Regions from separate parts of the Homo sapiens genome. Here region 2 is linked to region 1. Evidence: promoter capture Hi-C in human tissues and cell types (Jung and others, 2019). All regions are on one chromosome and are shown on one strand. The core of a region is centred on a gene start or on the middle of the fragment in contact, and the rest is flanking DNA. Distances in the headings are between cores, read along the strand shown. Region 1 holds the start of LACRT (lacritin). Region 2 holds the start of PPP1R1A (protein phosphatase 1 regulatory inhibitor subunit 1A).

Region 1 (4,540 bases), core at 1,673-4,172:
GCAGAAGTTTTGCTGAGGGCTCCAGCACTTCTCTCATAGGAAGTTGTGTGAGCCAGGACAGAAACCATGTATTGTGCAGGCTGCAACATCTACTATTGTGAAAACGTTGTGTGTGGGTGCAATGCACAATCCCATTTGTGCCTTTGTGTTCAGCTGTTTGAGTCTACCTGCTTCTCACCAGGCTTATCTCTGTGCGTGGAGGTGTGATGTGGGCCTGCAGCCAGAGACTTTTCTAGGTTGTTGATCTGGCATAGAGACAGAGACTTACTCAGGGGGTTTAGTTCCTGCCTGCTTGAGGTGACCTTGGCTGTCCCCTGAACTGCTGCCGCCGAAGTCTCCTGGGCTGTTGTGGTTGTCTCTGGGGGTGAAGCTGGTTCTGCTGGACCTGAGATCTCTTCATTAGGCTTAGCTGTGAATGCACAAATTGATGGATTTTAGCAAAGTGAAAGTGTTTGTTTCTTTTGGAATGGGTTGCAGGGCCCCAGGATACCTAATGTGTGCTGGGTGCCAGGATACAGAAGTGATATGGCTTAAACGCTGCCCCCTTAAGGGAGATAGCATTTCTGCATGCTGTGTGTCTCTTGGAATGCAGCGGGCAGGGTTGGGGAAGGATTTGGACTAGGGGATGGTGAGAATCGGGGAGCACTTCATAGAGAAGCTGGATCTTGAAGGCAGGATGTTAGCAGGAGAGGATGTACCAAAGGGGCTTCCCTGGGGGCAGGCAGTGAGTAAGAGGTCAGGCGAAGGCATGTGTGGGGAATGGAAACAAGTTCAATTTAGCTGATGTGGGTGCGACATAAAAGAGAGTCATGGAAAATGGGGTTGGAAAATGAGGTTAGAGGCCAGATAATGGTTATCTTGCTAAGGAATTGGGAGTAATGGGAGGTGTTTGCAGGTGAAGGTATTAATGCCATGTGAGACATTGCCCTTACCACTTAACCTCATGTTTCTCTCCCTTTTATTCACAATAACCTTTTCCCCATGCTCCCTATTGTCCTTGCCTCTCTGGGTCATCCTCTTTTGTCCTTAGCCTTGTACCATTTCAACCCATGCCACCTTCTTTATTATATTACCTGCCCCTCCCCATTACCACCAAGCACAGAATCCAGATCTCCTCCCACTGGCTTCTTCTCCCAGCCACCACTCACATCCCTAACTGTTAAACCTTCCCAACGAGGGCTAGGGCAGCAGGGAGAGGAGGACTCACAGGTCCCAGCTTCCTGGGCAGGATCAGCACCCGTCGAGTCAGAGGAGGCATCTTCTGCAATGGGGGAAACATGCCAGATGAGAGCAAGGACCGAACCGGACCTACTCGAGCCACCCTCCCCTCCCATTCCCAAAGCTTATCTCCTGGGAATGCTCATGGATAGAAGGGGATCAATTTCCCTTTGGGTTGGACATGCCCTTCCACCATATCAGCGGGTCTACTGGGGCACTCTCTGATGTTTAACTCCTGTGGCTTTTGAAATAACTTCCCCTCTGAGAAGTGTAATGTCTCTTGGAACAGTGCCTTCCTCCTGACTGGCCCCTGGCTTGGTAGGCTTCCCTGAGGTGTCTGTCATGGAGCTGGCCATGGTCAGAGGGGCTCAACCTCCTCTGTGGTGGAGGAGGACAGTATGTGGGGGTTATGGGGCCATATTTGAGCGATTTGCAGGATTGAGACCCCAGCCTTGATTCCCTTTATTCTTTCAACACAACATTTATGCAAAGCTCTGTGCCAAGAGATGGAGGTGCAGTGCTGAAGAGGGCAGACAAGACCCCTGCCCTGACAGAGCTTACATCTGTCCTTTTACGAAATTATTTAATGGCTGGTGTGACAGTGCTGGAAGGGAACGTGCAGCCTGGTGCGAGAAGGGCACATGGATCTGATTTGTTCCGCATGTGCATGGAAGGCCTTTTTGGGGAATTATATGTAAACTGAGATTTTCTAGATGAAAAATCATTGGCCAGGTGACATTAGAGTTGGTTGGGGGAAGGGGCCAGGGAGAGGGAAAGCATTCTAGACGAGGAAAGGACAAGAAGGAAGATCCTGATGTTCAAGGAACAGCAGGATCATCATGGCCCAAATAGTGCTTCTGTGGATCAAAAAAGGCATCCCAGCAGGGCACGGTGGCTCACGCCTGTAATTCCAACACTTTGGGAGGCCAAGGCAGTCGGATCACCTGAGGTCAGGAGTTCGAGACCAACCTGGCCAACATGGTGAAACACCGTCTCTACTAAAAATACAAAATTAGCTGGGCAAGGTGGCATGAGCCTGTAGTCCCAGCTACCCAGGAGGCTGAGGCAAGATAATCGCTGGAACCCAGGAGGTGGATGTTGCAGTGAGCAGAGATCGTGCCACTGCACTCCAGCCTGGGCAACAGAGGGAGACTCGGTCTCAAAAAAAAAAAAAAAAAAAAGGCATCCCTTCCTCCTAAGAGACACAGCCAGGGGCCAGGCTCACTGCTTGGCAAGTAGAGTGTCGGCCAGATTTTAGCTTCTACCACTCCTTGCCTGGGCACCCTCGTGTAGGGGACACCCTGCTCAACTACATGCAGGGGACACCAGAGAAGCCAGTGTAGCTGAGGCATAGTGGGTAAACAATGGTGTGTGAGGAGATGAGCTGGGAGGGCAGGCAGAGGCCAGAGAGTTCTGGGTTCCTCTGGCCAGTGGGGTGCAGAGGCCACGTGTGGAGAACTGGGAGAGGAGTCACTTGCAGAGGCAGGGAAACCAGAATAGCACTGAGAGAGGAGGAGAGGGGTGAAGGCAGGAGTGAGGGGCTCCTTGGACTGGGAGGACTCTTGTGGGGCGCAGAGGAAAGGCCATACTCACCAGCATAGACCAGGGCCCCTGCTACAGCTGCCAAGAAGAGGAGAGTGGTAAATTTCATTCTTTGGGATGAGGAGTGAGTATAACCACAGAATCTGCAGAAGGTCTGGGGAATAAGGATGCTGAAATTGCTGGGCCCTTTTAAGGATATCAAGGGCCAATGGGAACCAAGCCTGGAGAGGTGTGACTTCCGCATCCTCCTCCCCTTCTTCCCCAAACTGTCACCTGCTAAGTCAACAAGGGCTAGGTTGGGCTGGCTGATACCTGGGATCCTTGCAGGCAGGTCCTGGATAGGAGCCTTTCTCTAACTCCCAGCCATCCCTTTTCTTTCTCCCTCCTCCCTTCCCCACCACACCTGCCCTCTGGGTTCACACCCCTGGGCTCTCAGGGACGGTAGGTAGAGCACATTTCACTTGGGGAGATTCTGGGATGTGTCTGTTGAGGGTTCTGGTAGAGAAATCTTAATCTTGTCATCTCTCCAGGAGGAGGTTGAGGGCTCAGGGGATTACATTGTCCACCTTCTGTCCCAGTCTACATAGGACTCAGTGCAGGGTTTGAAGGTTTCCCCAAACTAAGTGAGCCCGTTTCCTTGGGAGACCACACCTAGAACACTTGAGGCCTGAGTTCCTGGCTGCTTTCTCCCCATGAGGGGATGGGTTTGAAGGCGTGTGTGCCTTCTCTGGAGTTGTTCTCTGTTCTTGACATTATCCAGCCCCTAAAAAGAACTCCTCCAGGCTCACATAGGCCTGTCAATCTCTGTCTTCAGGCCTACTCAATGGGACCCCACATTTCTGAGAGAATCTCCTGGTCAAAGCATGATGGTGGTTCACTGAAATTGGAGCTTGGTTCTGACTTCAAGTGGGGAGCTGACCCATGGTGTGAATAATCCAGAAAAGCAGATTATTCTAAAGAAGCTTCTCTTTGACTTGGCGTTTCTTCCTTTCCTGATCTGGGACTCTAGAGGTCTGGATTTTGAGTTCTGGCTTTGTCATATGAAAATGTTAGGATTTGAAAAGTGATAGGATTTTTATTTGTTGTCTAGGAGTTGTGGCTCCTATGTACAGCATAGTGGTGGAGATTAAGTGGGATAATATACGGCAAAGCATTTTTTTAGACAGCGAAGTTCTATGGAGTTGTGTGGGGTTCTTGTACCATCTTTCCAAGTAGGTTTTTGTCCAGGCTGGTGCTAAATGCTAGATATTAATAGAACGGGCCGTGGAGCAGGAGTCAGTTGAGGGGCTGAAGGGTGGAGAATAAGGTGCTGGATGTCAATTTGTGACTTTCCCCTTGCTTGGTGTTGGCATTCACCCAGCCCCATGTGGGCTGATTCCGGAGGCTTCTCTGCCTCATGGTAGCTCTGAAGATGAGTGTGAGAAGGGGGTATTGAAGAGTTTTCAACATGAGGGTGTTTTGGGTGCCAGGGTTTAGAACATTAATCTTTTCAGGAGATAAAGGAAGATAAAATTAATGGGGTGGGACATTAAAGCCTTGGCAATTGCTACCTGCCTGAGGGTCTGGGCCTGGGAGCCTTGAAGGTGGTGGTGGCCTTACCTGGAATGGGGAAGGCTGAAGAACAAGAGAAAGTTTTGATGGCACCAGTGCCCTGGGTATGTGCACATACGTGTGTGCACGTGTGTGTACACTGCAGAAGGAGAAGTCCTGCAGATCCCAAACAGATCTAGATCCCGAGCAGTCTCCATGAGCACATTAAAAAAGTCAACAGGAGCAAATT
Region 2 (4,836 bases), core at 163-2,662, 46 kb before region 1:
AAAAACACTCTCTCCACCTCATCCCAAGAGGTCACAAAGTTTTTTTCAGGTTGGGGGTGGCCAGCCAGAGCCTGGCAGCTTGTTGAGAGAAACAGAGAACTGACCTTGTGGGAAATTGATATTCTTTAGGAATGGGAATGTCTAGGCAAATGGACAGAGATTACAAAGAGATGGAGCAATAGGCAAATAAGCAAATATTTGGCAAACAAGGAGTAGTAAGGACCACGGGTGGCCACCCTCTCCACACATACGCTCACTCTCACCGAGGCATACACTTGCTCACACACTCTCATACACTGCCCCCTCTGCCAGGCTGCTCTGAGCTAAAAATAGACCAGGCTAGGAGGCTGGGCCAGGGCCCTGGACTCCCACCCCTTGAGCCAAGGCTGTCACAGTGCTTCTCCCTTGCATATTGTTCAGCTTGGACCCCAGCCCCTGGAAAGACTCCACCTCTGGCCTCCCAGTGCTGCTGGCTCAGTCCCACCTGGACTCCCCACTCCAAAGGGCAGGAGTTGGGAATAAGGGCCATGTGCGGAGACTTGAAGAAGGGAGCCTCAGCCTACAACTCGACCACCCCTCTCCCCTCTCCCTGGAGCCCCAGCCCTCTCAGTGGTCCTCAGTCCCTTCCTGTTATCACTTTCGGAGCCCAGCAAGGTGGCCCCCAGTTAGGAGGGGACAGGGAGAGCTGTTTCTCCTCTTCCAACTCCCACCCTTCCAGGCTCCCTCTCCATTACCGACCCCTCCCCAGGCCCCTCCCGCACTGCTGCTGATTCCCTTCAGCGCCACCACCAAGCTCAGAAACTCTAGTGGGGGTTGACTGGGTGGGGGATGCAGGGTTGTTTAAGGAGGGAGGGGTCGTGTCCTCAAGCAGGCCCCCTCCCCCAGGACTGGGGAGGAAGAGAGCGACTCTCGCGGGGCCAGGCATCGAGTGGAGGCGCTCTTCCTTCGGTCAGTCTCAAAGAAGCACAGATTCGAGATGTGGCTCCGACGGTGGGGGAGGGGACAGAAGACCCCCCCCCGCCCCCCGCAAACTGAGCGTTCGTCCTCAAAAGGGCGCACTGCTAAGGGAGGACTAGGCAGGGATCCTGGGTCCCACCAGTCCAGGGGTCCCTCGTCCTTGGCTGGGCGAGTGCCCTGCCGCCCCGCCCTGCTCCGCACCTGCTCCGCCGCCTCGGGGTCAAGGTGCGGCTCCAGCAGCGGGACCGTGAACTGGATCTTTCGGGGGCTGTTGTCTTGCTCCATGGCTGGGGCGGCGGCCGGTGGGCCCGCGCTGCGGCGGGAGGGAAGGCGGCGGGACTCGGGGCTGGGGCGGGCGCGCTCCCTCTCCGCTCCGCTCCGGCCCCGGCCCCAGCCCGGCGCGCTCGGCTCCCGGCTCCCGGCACAGCGCTCCCAGCTCGCGGCTCCGGGGACTCTGCCGCCGCCGATTGGCTCCGCACCCGCCCCTCCCGGCCCCCTCCCCCTCCCCCAGCCCGGAACCTTAACCCCGTCGTGGCTGCACCGGCGGCTGCGGGGGTCACCGCCCCGCGGGCCGCCGAGTCCGGGCGTGGCCCGGGAGCCGTCGTAGTGGACAGCTCAGGCAGATACCTCAGTGTCCTCGGAGTTTTGGGCAGGGCGTTGGGGTGGGGAGTGGCTAGGAAGAACTTCTCCTAGCCGGAGCAGGTTGTTGGGGCTAGGAAAGTAGAGGGGCGCTGCAGGAGAGGAGACTAAACGCGAGAGGAAGATTGCATTTATGATTTTAAAGGGGGTTGTATTATAGAGAAAAGATGGAAAGGGGATTTAGGCATGCAGCAGGAGGGATTAAGGTTAGACTTCGAGAGGGACTTTCCTTTGCAAGGAAAACACTAGGCGGAGGTAAAAACTTGGAGGGAAATACGAAGTCTGCACACCCGTCCTGTGTTCCCTCAGTGCCAGGGAGAGGAAACTGAAGACTTCAGAGGGTCTCCGGAGGGCGCGTTTCTCTCGAAGTGCCTGTGGGAGTGGGTGGAGGGCTTGGGGAGAGAGGACCATCTGGGACTCGACAAAAGGAATAACGATGGTGGGGAGCCAATCCTGCTTGTGAAATCGAGTTCTCTTTCTGCTTGCTAAATTAGGGGATGGTAAAGTAGGTGAAAGGCCTGCAAGGGGAAAATGCCTGGGGAGGGAGAGAGAAACTCCTTTGGTGGGGTGGCTTGTTTACAGATAGGGTTGGTTTCTAATTTCACTATTGGCAGGATACTGAAAACGAGCTGCTGTAACTGAAGGAATGGAGGTTAGACTATGGGAAGAACTGACTAGTTTGGTGGAAGACTAAGATGCCAGTCAATACGAGCCAGTGAGGGAGACAGGATATTCACAGGAGCTGGTGTGCTCGGTCTAAGGACTGGGGATCACTAGATGGGGGAGGGGATGTGCTGGGCACTGGGGAGGGGTAGGGCTGGATGCATCTTTTCGGGAGGAGAAGGTGGAGAGAAGAACTGGGGATGGGGAGGAGGGCACAGGGAGTCCTGGAAGAGGGGAAGGGGTCTGTCTCTTTAGCCTTAAACCAAGCAACTGGCAAGTGCCATACAGATTCATGCCTGGTTCTTGGAGAACCATATGGTCATCTTCTCCTCTAAGGTGTCAGCCTCAACTCTCAGTTGCCTCCTCTCCTGGGCAGCCCTTTCCAGACCTTGATTTCACAAGGCCCCTTCCCCTCTAACCTCACAAAATAACTTGTCCTGCCTTCCCCCCAGCCATATCTTTTTACACATGTCGGGCTCAGTTTTCTCAGGGTAAGGCTGGGGTTATGGGGACCCAGTGGGCCAGCTGGACCTCTGTCTGCAGGTTAACTGGCCCCTGTTTTGCTGTCACCTGGACTCCAGGATTGACTCCTGACACCCAGCCTGCACTTGCAGGGCCCCTTTGCTCTCTGGTGTGGCAGGGCCAGGTGGAAAACAGCTGGTTGGGCTTCCCCGTCTCCATTCCCAACCTTTGCGCAGATCCCCCCACAAGAAGTGACAGTGGAGAAAGAGATCGTGAAGGCCCTGAAGCAGAGAGGATAACGGTTGGGGGCTAGGGAGATACCTGGCTCATTAGGGCCCAGTTGCTTGCTCTGGCCTCCTTCCTACTCACCCCACCTCCTAACCACACATCCACAGAGCAGGATCCCAAATATCCTCTAAATAGGTGACTTGTCTATTCCCCATCCCATTCTACCAGGACCATGGGATGTGAAGCCAGGATTCCCACATCCCTATGTCTGGGGACTCAGGCTTCTCTCATGAGCCTCCATCTCATTTGTAAAACAGACAGAGGATCCCACCTCCTAGGGTTGAGTATCATCTTGGGTAGAGTACCTGGTGCATAGAAGGTCACGGTTAATTGTAGCTGCTGGTTTTATTGTTATTTCCTGGCAGGACGGCAGAGTTGAGGGGTGGTCACCTCTCAGAGTGGTTACCTCTCCACCCCCACCCCAGACATCCAGGCTGCCTAGTCCTCTTTCGTATTCCGTGCTCTCCCTCAAACTTTGGTCTGGTCATGGAAATTCCTCCCCAAGTCTCTCACCCACCCTATGTTGCCTTCTCAAGTCCCGGATTCTCAGAGTCCTTTGTCCTGAAAGCCACGGGTAAGGAGAGAGACCAAGAGAGCTTGAGCTCTGGAGAGATGGCTGATGAGGGGCTGCGTGGGAAGAGGGGTCCCGGCAGCAGCTGGTGCTGGGGTAGAGGCAGCGGAGGAGAGAGGAGGGAGAGGGAAGAGGGATGGCTCCCAGTACTGGCTTTGGGAGGAGGAGACTGGGGAAAGTGGGCGAAGCGTTTATGGTTAGCAGGGAGGTGGAGTGTGGCTGGGTGCAGCCTTTGGTGCCGGGTAAGCTGGAATGGGTCTGTCTGTGAAGGTGTGTGTTTATTGTCATTTTGACTTTTATTTATGTCCATAGCTATGTGAGTGCCTGTTGGGCCGGTGGGTGTATGAAGGTATGGGTTGCTCACACACAGGCCTGGGGCACTGCAAAGGGCCTGATGCCTGCTCTTGGAACCTTTCCTAGAGTGAGTAAGAGTTAGAGCCTGCCTCATCCCAACTCCTTCCCTCAGCTTGCATGTTTCTATGTTAGGCGCCTGTGTTCACAGCCCTGCTGCAGTCACAGCCTGGGCTGGAGGAGCAGCAGCTGTATGTGGTGCACTGCTGGCTCCATGAAATATTTAAAGTTACAGGGATGTGACTGGGTGATGCAGTCACTTAATGACTCTCACCCTCCCCTATTTTCGGCACTGGACTCTGGGTTAATGGGGCTGCTCTTTGTCGCTGTCAGCACTTTCTGTTTTTATCTATCCACCCTTCTCACCCCTACTAACCCTCACAACCACCCAGGAGGGAGGACAGGTATTAGGGTGTTTATTTTGCTTCTCGAGGGGAGGGTAGTGTAGAGAGGTGTTGCTAAGATGGGCCACCTGGGCCAGGATATGAAAGGTCAGGGTTCAATTCCTCCATCTGCTATCAACTCTCTGGGTGACTCTGGGGTTGCTCCCCCAACCCCCAACCGGACTCAGTTTCCTAATCTTCAAAATGAAGGGGACCGGGTGACTTTGCAGGTTTCTTCTGCTCTAATATTCTGTTATTCTGAGTTGAGGGTGCTCCTGTCACACAGCCAGCATGTCTCAGAAACAGGGTTAGAACCCAGGAGCCCCAGGACCTTATCTGTATCTTTGCCTTTCTCCCTGCCTGGGCAGTGTGGCAGAGGCACACTCCGGCTTGTTGACAACATGATGCACACACACTTTTTATACACACAGCTCTGAGGAGATAAGGGCAGAGACTGCTGTTATGCACCCAAAGGAGCAGCGACCCCATCCAAGTGGTCCCCCAGGAAGCCATATGCTCATG

What was found. The method cuts DNA at HindIII sites, captures the fragments that hold promoters and counts their contacts. A contact is called where the count stands out against the background at its distance.
Region 2: a contact is called between the fragment with the promoter of PPP1R1A here and the fragment with the promoter of LACRT in region 1, in 1 of the 25 tissues and cell types used here (liver).

What each region holds. Positions count from the first base shown.
Region 1 is chr12:54,631,973-54,636,512 of GRCh38, forward strand. LACRT (lacritin) reads right to left here and starts at 2,923. Exons shown (of 5, transcript NM_033277.2): 1 at 2,812-2,923; 2 at 1,208-1,261; 3 at 269-409. The coding sequence starts at 2,869. The HindIII fragment of the contact is 5,914 bases long and covers 1-4,540 here.
Region 2 is chr12:54,587,247-54,592,082 of GRCh38, forward strand. It overlaps PPP1R1A (protein phosphatase 1 regulatory inhibitor subunit 1A), which reads right to left and starts at 1,413. Exons shown (of 7, transcript NM_006741.4): 1 at 1,159-1,413. The coding sequence starts at 1,242. The HindIII fragment of the contact is 17,679 bases long and covers 1-4,836 here.